Linked DNA regions of Homo sapiens: regions 2, 3 and 4 are each linked to region 1. The links are contacts of gene promoters, found by promoter capture Hi-C in human tissues and cell types (Jung and others, 2019). All regions are on one chromosome and are shown on one strand. Each heading gives the region's core, a stretch centred on a gene start or on the middle of the fragment in contact. The rest is flanking DNA. Distances are from core to core; before and after follow the strand shown.

The links. Contacts are between HindIII fragments. The study calls those that stand out against the background at their distance.
Region 2: a fragment that was not itself captured here is called in contact with the fragment with the promoter of AHDC1 in region 1 in 1 of the 25 tissues and cell types used here (lymphoblastoid cells).
Region 3: a contact is called between a fragment that was not itself captured here and the fragment with the promoter of AHDC1 in region 1, in 2 of the 25 tissues and cell types used here (lymphoblastoid cells and neural progenitor cells).
Region 4: a fragment that was not itself captured here is called in contact with the fragment with the promoter of AHDC1 in region 1 in 2 of the 25 tissues and cell types used here (hippocampus and lymphoblastoid cells).

What each region holds. Positions count from the first base shown.
Region 1 is chr1:27,602,847-27,605,546 of GRCh38, forward strand. AHDC1 (AT-hook DNA binding motif containing 1) reads right to left here and starts at 1,298. Exons shown (of 9, transcript NM_001371928.1): 1 at 1,260-1,298; 2 at 882-1,017; 3 at 551-648. RefSeq lists silencers at 473-552, 1,103-1,642. The HindIII fragment of the contact is 10,400 bases long and covers 1-2,700 here.
Region 2 is chr1:27,029,170-27,031,992 of GRCh38, forward strand. LOC101928391 (a long non-coding RNA gene) reads left to right here and starts at 2,589. Exons shown (of 8, transcript XR_007065559.1): 1 at 2,589-2,660. The HindIII fragment of the contact is 5,333 bases long and covers 1-2,823 here.
Region 3 is chr1:27,084,418-27,087,218 of GRCh38, forward strand. No RefSeq gene overlaps it. Among named protein-coding and RNA genes, the nearest start is that of SLC9A1, 69 kb to the right of the region's middle. The HindIII fragment of the contact is 7,329 bases long and covers 1-2,801 here.
Region 4 is chr1:27,045,859-27,048,720 of GRCh38, forward strand. The region is part of intron 5 of LOC101928391 (a long non-coding RNA gene); the gene reads left to right. Among named protein-coding and RNA genes, the nearest start is that of TENT5B, 34 kb to the left of the region's middle. RefSeq lists an enhancer at 446-946. The HindIII fragment of the contact is 8,236 bases long and covers 1-2,862 here.

The DNA.
Region 1 (2,700 bases), core at 48-2,547:
CCTCAACTCCCCGAGAGCCAGTGGATCCTAGGGATTTGGGGGTTGGAGGGGAGGGGCTCCTCCCTCCGCAGTCTCCCCTTTTCCCAGCGCCGATCCTAAAATCCAGCCTTGTTCTCCGCTCCCACGGTCCCCCCTTCATTCCCCCCCCCCCCACATTCTCAGCAAGCTGGAGAGCAAATTGCAGTTTTAAATCCAAAGGCGGAGGGAGGGGGAAGGAGGAGGGGGCGCGCGGCAGCGCTGGGCGCGCACCTCGCCCCCGAGCCGGGGGAGCCGCGGGGCGGCCAGGAAACCCGAGAACCCCCCCTCCCCGCCCCCCCTCCCCGTCCACCTCCCCCTCCCCCTTCCCGGCGCTGCCTGCCAGGCTTCGAGCCGAGCCCAGCCGAGCCGCGGGCCCCGGTGGAAACAAAGACCGATCGCACCGCGGGCACCGCAGCCACCGGGTCCAGCGGACCGGACCGGGGGACGCAGGCCCCCCCCGTGCGCTGCACAAAAGAGCCTGGCCGGCCGGTCCCCAGCGGGGGTCTGGGGCTGGGGAGGAGGCGCCACTCACCGGAGTGCTGGGCTGCCGGCTCCGTGGGTCCGAGCCAGGCGAGGGGTTTTGGGGGACGTCTGTCTTCCGGCGGTGGCAGCGACGCGGGCGCCCGGCTGCTGAGGAGAGGAGTCGTGGAGGAGCCCTGAGCCGCCCGCCGTCGCTGACAGCATGGCTCGCGCCTCGGCTCACATTCTCCGCCGCTAACTCCGCTGGACACGGCCCCCCGCTCCCGCGGCGCCCCCCCACCTCGATCACTCCTTCGCTCTCTCTGCGCCCCCCTCGCCCTCCCGCCGCGCACACACTCTCCCAGCCCTGGACACCCCCGCCCCCACCCCCCCCAATAGCAAACCTGGGAGGGAACGCGCCCCGCGTAGTCCTCCTGCTCCTCCTCCTCCGCCCTCCTCCCTCCCGCTCTCTCTGGCTGTCTGTCTGTCTCTCAGACTGTCTCTATTTCTCGCTCTCTCTGCCTTTCTCTGCTCTCCAAGCTGGGTGGGAAAAGGAAATGAGGACAGAAAGCAGACGCTGGCTTTGGGTGGTGGTAGCTGGATTCCCTCTCTCCCTCCCTCCCCCTCCTCCCCTCCCTCCTCCTGCCTTCTGCTCTCTCCGCTGCGAGCGGGGCTGAGCGCAGCCTGGCGGGTGGCTCGCTCTGCCCGCCCGCCCGCCTGTCTGTCTGTCTGGTCCGCCTCGCTCGCTCCCTCCCTCCGTCTCTCGCCCTCGCCCTGCCTGCCTGCCTCTCTCCGTCTCCGCCGCCGCCGCCGCTGCCTCTGCGAGCTCGCCTTACCTTCGCCGCTCACCATCCGGAACCCCAGGGGGGAGCGCGCGCGCGGCACGCCGGGACTTGTAGTCCCCGCCCCGGCCGCTCCGCGCGCGGGGAGGGCGGGGCCGCGCCGGCTGCTCCGACGGCGCGGCCAGGAGCCCCGGGGACCCCGCGCCTGGGGCTCGTCTGGCTGGAGCGCGTCCTCGTTTACCAACGGGCGAAGATCCTCCCCAAGGGTTAAGAATGGTCCCTGTGTTCCTTGTCTCCACCGGGGGGCTCTGGATCGAGCGGAGGTTGCGGGTGGGAGTGAAGGGGCGGGGTCTGAGAGTGGAATGGGAGTGGAATAGGGAACCAGGGGATTAGCCAAAGGGGCTGCGACTTTCTGGGGCGTCCCAATTAAATGGGAGGGGGAGAGGGCAGAGGAGAGGACCGGCTCTCTCAATCTGGGGACGTTATCCTTTTCTGAAAAGGTTTCTTATTGAGTAAAGCTCAAGTATATATGGCGGGAGGGCTGCTGGGGCGGGGGAGCGGGGGAGACCCAGCCAGCGCTGCTTCCTCACTCAGTGACCCCTCCTCTCAAACTCCGACCTCGGTTTCGCCCTTGCAACTCCCAGCTTTCCTATATGTCCAAGGGCGGCGAGGGCTCAAAAGTCCTGGATAATCCGCAGATAGAACACACACACCCTTTTCCGAATTCTGCTGAGCATTTGCGTTGTGTCAGGAAGCAGGATTCAGATTGAACGGTGCTGACCTCCTGCCGCGGCCGGGGGCTGGGCTCAGCACTTTCACCTACCTCCTCTTCAGGTCACATGTGTTCTCCAGCCCCTGCCTAGCCTATCCCACAGATGGGAATGTGCGCTGCTTGGGGGCCTTGTTACCGCCCCCGGAGATGGCTGAACTGCTGCGGTAAAATAGTGCTGTTATTTCCATTTTAGAGATGGGGGCACTGAGGTCCAGGTTCTCCAGTTAGCAAGTGGCTGAACCCAGCTGGATTTGAACCAGGGTCTGACTAACTCCAAACCCCACAAGCTTAACCCCTGGGCTATGACAAGGAGTTGTGACTCCCTCCATTTCTGTAACTGACCTTCTCTCCCTGTGTCTGTGTGTCCTTTCTTGGCACTTCAACAAATGTTAACTGAGGTATGCAGGGCTTGCAAGGGACACGGAGATGAATAATGCATAGTGGCTGTCGTGTCCTGTGTCCTAGGTGTCTACCAACGCCGGCCCTGACTGGCCCTGCGGCGGTCCCACCTCACTGGACCACCTCATCTGTGTGTCTGATGTTCCACACCCTGTGTCTGCTGGCCTTGTCTATCTTGCTCCAGGTCTGAAGTTCCTAGAGCAGTGCCTTTGTCTCTGGCCTACCTGTTTCTGACTCTTCCTTTGGCCTTGCAGGGTGTTGGCCAGTGTG
Region 2 (2,823 bases), core at 324-2,823, 570 kb before region 1:
AAGCTCCAGTTCTTATCCCATCTTGGCCTCTTATTGGCTGGGTGACCTGGGTGCGAACCCTTCCCCTTCACTGAGCCTTGGTGTTCTCCTCTATTCATTAGGTCATCACCATCTACCTCTCAGGGCTAGCATAAAAGACCCAGTGTGTGAGCAGTGTCTGGTATGTAGTCAAGGCTGGCTTGCCCTCCTCAGAAACTGCCAATTTGCTAATTTGGTACAAGCTTCAGACAGGTGTGGATTTCGGTGGTGCGGGGATACAGGGGAGTGGAGAAGGAAGGTGGAAGAGAGAGGGACACCAGAGAAAGCAGACGAGGCCCTGAGAGAGAATCTGCAGGGCCAGAGGCTGGAGTCTGAAGACCAAGATAGGCACAGAAGCCTGAGCTGTCCCTGGCACGATGTGAGCAGGGCAGATGTTCCAATCTCCCTTCCCTCAGGTGTGGAGCGGCTCATGAAGCCCCTCCCTGTCTAGAAGCTGGTTCGGCCCATCTGATCCGACCCTGCAGGGAGGCAGGCAGAGGTGAGTGGTGAGAAAGCCCATTTCACAGGTGAAGAAACTGAGGCTCAGGAAGGTGGCGATTTGCGTCTCTATCTCATCTCGCCTGCCAGGGTAGAAGCTCCTCAGATTCAAGCGCCATTTAGTTCCTGCTTCTGTTTCCTCAGAGCCATGCTGTTGATTGAAAACAGGAGTGAGTGTTCCTCAGTGGGTTCCCAGCCCCAGCAGGCCTCACGCCCCCTTTTGTAACAAGTATCTTGCAATGCCCCTTTCCTATAATGGAATACAATTCATAGATTATGTGGTCTATTTATACACTACTAATTTTTTTTTTTTTTTGAGATGGAGTTTCACTCTTATTCACTCTTATTGTCCAGGCTGGTGTGCAATGGCGTGATCTTGGCTCACTGCAACCCCTTCCTCCCGGGTTCAAGTGATTCTCCTGCCTCAGCCTCCCAAGTAGCTAGGATTACAGGCATGTGACACCACGCCTGGCTAATTTTTTTCTTTTGTTTTGTTTTGTTTTTTTTTAAGATGGAGTCTCACTCTGTCGCCCAGGCTGGAGTGCAGTGGCGTGATCTCGGCTCACTGCAAGCTCCGCCTCCTGGGTTCACGCCATTCTCCTGCCTCAGCCTCTCGAGTAGCTAGGACTACAGACGCCCACCACCATGCCCGGCTAATTTTTTTTGTATTTTTAGTAGAGGAGACGGGTTTCACTATGTTAGCCAGGATGGTCTTGATCTCCTGATCTTGTGATCCGTCCGCCTCGGCCTCCCAAAGTGCTGGGATTACAGGCGTGAGCCACCGCGCCTGGCCGACGCCTGGCTAATTTTTGTATTTTTAGTAGAGACGGGGTTTCACCATGTTGGCTACGCTGGTCTTAAACTCCTGACCTCAGGTGCGCCTCGGCCTCCCAAAGTGCTAGGATTACAGGCGTGAGCCACTGCGCCCAGCCTATTTATTTATTTATTTTGAGACAGAGCCTCGCTCTGTTGCCCAGTCTAGAGTGTAGTGGCTCAATCAAGGGTTACTGCAACCTCTGCCTCCTGGGCTGAATCTATTCTCCCACCTCAGCCTCACCAGTAGCTGAGACTACAGGTGCACGCCACCACACCTGGCTAATTTTTTTTTTTTTTTTTTTTTTTTTGTAGAGACTGGGTCTCACAGTGTTGCCCAGGCTGGTCTTGAATTCCTGGGCTCAAGTGATCCGCCCTCCTCGGCCTCCCAAAGTGCTGGGATTACAAGCATGAGCCACCGTGCCTGGCCTTGGCCTTGTCTGTCTTTTTTTTTTTTTTTTTTTTTTTTTTTGAGACGGAGTCTTGCTCTGTCACCAGGCTGGAGTGCAGTGGCGCGATCTCGGCTCACTGCAACCTCTGCCTCCTGGGTTCAAGCGATCCTCCCTGCCTCAGCCTCCCGAGTAGCTAGGACTACAGGCGCACGCCACCAAGCCCAGCTATTTTTTTTTTTTTTTTTTTTTTTTTGGTATTTTTAGTAGAGACGGGGTTTCACCACGTTGGCCAGGGTGGTCTCCATCTCTTGGCCTCGTGATCAGCCGGCCTCGGCCTCCCGAAGTGCTGGGATTACAGTCGTGAGCCACCGCGTCTTTTTAAACCTGTAAATACTCAGGCCTACTCTTGTAGAAAAAAGGCTTCTCAAATTTGAAAGTGCCCGGGAGCCACCTGGGGCACATTCCTTGGAATGTGCAGGTTCTGAGTCAGCAAGTCTGGGGCTAGACCTGAGAGCCTGCATTTCTAACCTGCTCCCAGGTGGTGCCCAGTTGTTGCTCCTCAAGCTGGGAAAAGATGACCTTGGCTGCAGATCTGAGGGGCTGCGAAGCCCAGGGCGTCCAGTTCCCGAGGTGCCCTTCCGCCCAGAGCCGCCCTCTCCCCAGACCCCAGTGAGGGTCAGCCCTCTCCCAGGCCTGCCCTGATCGCTGCCCAGGGAAGCGCCCGCCCTGCCGCAGCCGCCCAGTCTGATTCCTGGCATCCACGTGGCAGGGCGCCCGCTGCAGCGACAGCAGTTCCCACGGGAGGAGTCGCACCGGGAATGGGCCGCGGGGGAGGGAGAGAGTGGGAGGGAGTGAGGCCCCGGGAATTGTCCTCTGAAGGGGCGGCGCATGGGCGTCCCCCGCCCTGCTAGCCCCATCTCCTTCCCTGTCCCTGCTTGGGTGAGTAAATCCCTAGTGCTTTGATTCGCTTGCCCCTCCTTCCGTCTCTCCCCACTTCCTCCTCGCTCGCTCGTTCCCTCTGCCTTCAATCTGAGCTGGGCCCTTGCAGTGAGGAGCCCACGGTTACCTGGCTGTTCCCTGCCCGCCACCTCCCTCCAGGTGG
Region 3 (2,801 bases), core at 232-2,731, 520 kb before region 1:
GACAGCACCTTAGCCTCATCCCCAACTAACAGAGACCCATTTAATAATGCTCCCGTCCAGGGATATGTCCAGTACATTAATCCTAGTTCTCAACTTCCTCCAGTCTTAACCTCTCTTTGGGTCTCTTCTAGGGTCTATGGTTTATCATTATCACTATCTCTTTGCCAATACCTGGAACTCCATAACCCCTCTTTGACTTCATCTTATTTGCCTGGCAAAACCCATCTGTCTTGGTGCCTGCACTCAAGTATCTGAAGATCACTGACAAATTCGTACAGCTGAGCTGAGCAGTGCCACTGTTCTCAAACATCAAAGGGACTCGACACGGAAAACTCTACTGTTTTTCTAACACGAACAGTTTCTTTCTTCTCCTCTTTCTCAAGGTAACTATTTCACTTCTTTTCCTCTTTCTTCAAATTTCCTATTTCCCTTTCTAGATTCATTCTCATTTGATTTGGTAACCTTGCCTGACTATTTATTGAGAGAATTAATGCCTTCAGTCACACAGACACCTTTTCATCTTTCCTCCACAAAATCTGCAAACCCATCTGCTTCTTCCTACTTTGGAGATGTTGTCCCTACTTCTCTCAAGGGTGTCTTTTTTTTCTCTCTCTTCTTTCTTCTTTTCTTCTTCTCCTCCTTCTTCTTCCCCTTCTTCTCTTTCTTCTCCTTCTTTTCCTCCTTCTCCTTCTTTTTAAGACAGGGTCTCGCTCTGTCACCAAGACTGGAGTGCAGTGGTGCAATCATGCCTCAATCTCCTGGGCGAAGCGACCCTCCCACCTCAGCCTCCTGACTAGCTGGGGCCACAGGCATGGGCCACCACCCATGCCTGGCTATGTTTTTTTGTCTTTTGTTTTTTGTAGAGACACAGTGTCTCTATGTTGCCCAGGCTTGTCTTGAACTCCTGGACTCAAGAGCTCCTCCTGCTTCAGCCTCCCAAAGTGCTGGGATTACAGATGTGAGCCACTGTGCCTGGCCTCAGAATGTCTTGATTCTGAATCTCTACCTCTTTTACTTTATCAAAGTGTTTCCTTCTCTACTGGGTCATTTCCCACCACTTTAAAAACATTTCTAATATCCACTCTCCACCCCCAACACACACACAAACAAAACAAAAGTAAACTAATGGCTGTATTAGTTTTCTATTGCTGTGTAATACATTACCACAAACTTAGTGGCTTAAAAGAACACACATTTGCCAGGCGTGGTGGCTCATGCCTGTAATCTCAGTACTTTGGGAGGCTGAGGTGGGTAGATCACCTGAGGTCAGGAGTTTGAGACCACCCTGGTCAACATGGCGAAACCGTCTCTACTAAAAATACAAAAATTAGCCAGGTGTGGTGGCGCGCACCTGTAATCCCAGCTACTTGGGAGGCTGAGGCAGGAGAATCTCTTGAACCCAGGAGGTGGAAGTTGCAGTAAGCCGAGATTGTGCCATTGCACTCCAGCCTGGGTGACAGAACGAGACTCCGTCAAAAACAAACAAACAAACAAACAAACAAACAAAAAACACATTTATTGTGTCACAGTTTCTGTGGGTCAGAAGCCCAGCATGTTTTGAGTCCTCTGCTTAGCATCTTACCAGGCTGAAATCAAGGAACTAGCCCAGACTGTGACCCCAGCTGGGGCTCAGGGTCATCTTCCAAGCTTATTGGTTGTTGCAGAATTCAGTTTCCTGCAATTGGAGGACTGAGGTTTCTACTTTCTTGCTGGCTGCCAACAGGGGCCATTCGTAGCTCCTAGAGGCCACCAGTTGCTCACTGACATGTGACCCCCTTCACAAGAGGACAGTTTGCTCCTTCAAGGCCAGCAGTAAAGCGCTCTGTAAAAGGCTCACCTGATTAGGTCAGGCCCACCAAGATGAGTTTCTTCTGATTAATTCAAAGTCAACTGATTAGGGGCCTTAATTATATTTGCAATATTCACCTTTGCTATATAATGTAACCTAATCACAGCAATATCCCACCATACAGGTTCTGCCTGTATACCGTCAAGGGGAGGGGATTATACATGTCTTGTACAACAAAAGGCAGGAATCTTGGAGGCCATCTTACAATTCTGCCAACCACAACACACACCATACCACACACACATCACACACCACATACACCTCACACACCACCCCCACACACCACAAAGATCACACACACCACACCACACACACACCACATACCACACAGCCCACACACTGCACCACACATACACACCACACACATACCACATACCCCACATACCACACACACAGACACCACACACACCACATCCATACACCACACCACACACACTACACACCACACATCCCACATACCACACACACCACACACTACACACATACACACACCCCACACACCCCATACACACCCTGCACACCACACACATCACACACAGAGACACCGCCTATCCCACACACACCACACACCCCACATATCACACCACACACACCACATCCACACACACCACACACACACACAGCATACACAACACCCATAGACACCACACACCACACACACACCTCACGTACCAAACACCACACACACAACCACACACCACACACCAAACACACACCCCACACATACCTCACACCACAGACACACACCACCCCCCGCCACACAACACACACACACACACACACACACACACACACACACACACACACACAGCAGGTGCTCTGGACCTATCTGTCAAATTGCATGGGGCAGCTGAGCCTCAGTTTTCTTTGAGAGTCTCACTCTTGTCACCCAGACTGGAGTGCAGTGGCACGACCTTGGCTCACCGCAACCTCCGCCTCCTGGGTTCAAGCA
Region 4 (2,862 bases), core at 86-2,585, 560 kb before region 1:
TAGAGGGTCACAGCCAACACCCGGCACTCCTCTGAAAGGAACACACCCAGAAATCTCTTGCCTTTTCCCAGGCTTTGATATATTTTCTTGGCCGACTCCTGGAAGGATCAGGATGAATCAGGTAGCAGCCATTGCTGAGCAGGCAGGCCATCTTAGAGCTTGGTCCTCCTCTTTGCAAAATCTTCCCCATTCAGGCGGTAACTTCTAGCTGCAGCCAGGGTCAGTAACCGCCAGCAGGTGGCGCTGAGGCAAAAATCTCAGCCGCACGTGGGGAATTCTTTGACCCTTGCGGCCCCGCAGGAGTCAGGTTTCCTGACTTCAGGATTTCACGGGACCCTTTCTCCCCACCCCCTCCCCACCTTCTTCTTCTCCTCCTTCTCCTTATCCTTCTTCTCCTCCTCCTTCCTTCTTTTTTTTTTTGGTTGTTGTTGTTTAGTTTTTTGAGACGTGGTCTCGCTATGTTGCCCAAGCTGGTCTTGAACCCCTGGGCTCAAGTGATTCACCCGCCTCGGCCTCCCAAAGTGCAGGGATCACAGGCGTGAGTCACCGCGCCGGGCCATTCCCCCTCTTTTGGGTCAAGTTTTCTCATGATCACAGGGCTGCTTCCAAGTGAGCTCATCTCCAGCCATAAATTCAGCCATTCACTGATTCAATCAATCTTTGATTTGACAAAGTGTCCAGGCCCCAAGTCGTATTCCTGAGGCTCTCCAGGAATTCTTTGTGTCCAAGAAGCAGCCCTTGTCTCTGCTTGTCCGGCTTTGCTGCTCCCAGAAGGAGCAAGGCCTCACTCACCTTTGAGGATGAATTCTGCCATCTCAGGGCCCCATCCCATGCTGCCCCCCCCCCCACCCCTGCCCTGCCTTTGGGTGTATCCACACCCCCCTGGAAACCTGGAAAAGGCACCTCAGCAGAGGATGAATAAAAAGCTTTACTTCTTTCTCTCCTTTCAAGCTCTCATTCCTCCCCCCCCTTTTTTTTCTTGAGACAAAATCTTATTCCGTCACCCAGGCTGGAGTGCAGGGGTGCGATCTCGGCTCACTGCAACCTCTGCCTCCTGGATGCAAGTGATTCTCATGCCTCAGCCTCCCGAGTAGCTGGAATTACAGGTGCACACCACCACGCCCAGCTAATTTTTGTATTTTTAGTAGAGACGGAGTTTCACCATGCTGGCCAGGCTGGTCTCGAACTCCTGACCTCAGGTGATACGCCTGCCTCAGCCTCCCAATGTGCTGGGATTACAGGTGTGAGCCACCGCTTCCGGCTTCATTCCCATTTTACAGGTGAGAAAGTGGCTACTGCTCCTCTGGGTCTGTCCTGGTCGTCGGGGAAGGCTGTATCTCTTTGCTATACTCGGCTTTACTCAGGCCAGAGGATGGCTGAAGAGCTGTCCCCAGGCCTCACTGTTTCCCTGGCCTTCCCATAAACTCACATTCATGGAGGACTGCAGCATAAGAAGCACCTCCTATGCGCTTCCCAAGGGCCTGGAAAGTTCTCCAGAATGTAGTGGGAATAACTACAAGCACAGTCCCATCCCAACTCAGCAGGCAAGGAGTGCTGGGGTGACCACAGCTCCCTCCTCAGCTGAGACCCTGCCCTGGGGTAGGGGCAGCAGGCCAAGGGGAAGGAGGTGGGCAGGCAGGGTGTGCAGGCCATCATGGTAGTGAGGTCTGCACCGGGGCCAGGGCACACATCTGTCCCACTGGGTGCTGGCTGGGCAGTGTTTCCCTGGCTCCTTGGCTCTTCCCTGTATGCTGGGTGCACAATTGTGGGGCATCAGGGAGAAAACCTTCCTCTTCTAGGTTAGGGTCTCTGCCCTCTGCCCCGTGACTGTGACAGCAGCAGGAAAGAAGTCACCACAGTGCTCCTGCGTCTCAGGGATTCCCTAAAAGGAGAATCAGAGAAAAGAGTAGGAGTCCTTGGGAAGCAGATCCTGAGCAGAAAGGTCCCTGGTCTCTGGCCACCTGAGGCCTATAGGCAGTGAGATCTGCTGGGAATGAAGTGGATGGTGGGGTAAATTTGAAGGCAGGTAGGGGAGAAGCAGCACCAGACCCCCAGGGCCCGGACAGGCCAGCGGGCTTCCTGCAGTTTGCACGACCTTGCATCTCCCTTCCTTTCCTGGGAAGCATGTGGTCTGATAGCTTCCAGGATGACAGCTTGTGCTGGGGCCTGGACTTCTCTGCTCTGACAGATTCAGACATCTGTCTTAGTTTGTTTTCTGTTGCTTACAACAGAATACTGAAACTGGGTAATTTCTAAAGGAAATGAATGTATTTTTAAAGTTCTGGAGGCTGGGAAGTCCAAGGTCGAGGGGCCACATCTGGTGGGAGTCTTCTTGCTGGTGGGAGCTCTCTGCAGACTCCTGTGGGAGGGCATGACGTCGCATGGTGAGGGGGCTGAGTGGTGTCCCTCAGTGTCCCTTCCTCTTCTTATAAAGTCCTCAGTCCCACTCCTATAATCACCAATTAACTCATTAATCCATTAACCCACGAGATTAATCCATTCATGAGGGCAGAGCCTTCATGATCCAATCACCTCTTAGAGGTCCTACCTCTCAATATGGCCACACTGGGGATTACATTTCGGCATAGGCTGGGTGCACTGGCTCATGCCTGCAATCCCAGCACTTTGAGAGGCCAAGGTGGGCTGATTGCTTGAGCCCAGGAGTTCCAGACCAGTCTGGGCAACATGGTGAAACCCCATCTTGACAAAATATAAAAAAATTAGCCAGGCATGGTGGTATGCACGTGTAGTCCTAGCTACTCCAGGGGCTGAGGTGGGAAGATTGCCTGAGCCCAGGGAGGTTGACGCTGCAGTGAGCCATGACTGTGCCACTGCACTCCAGCCTATGCAACAGAGCGAGGT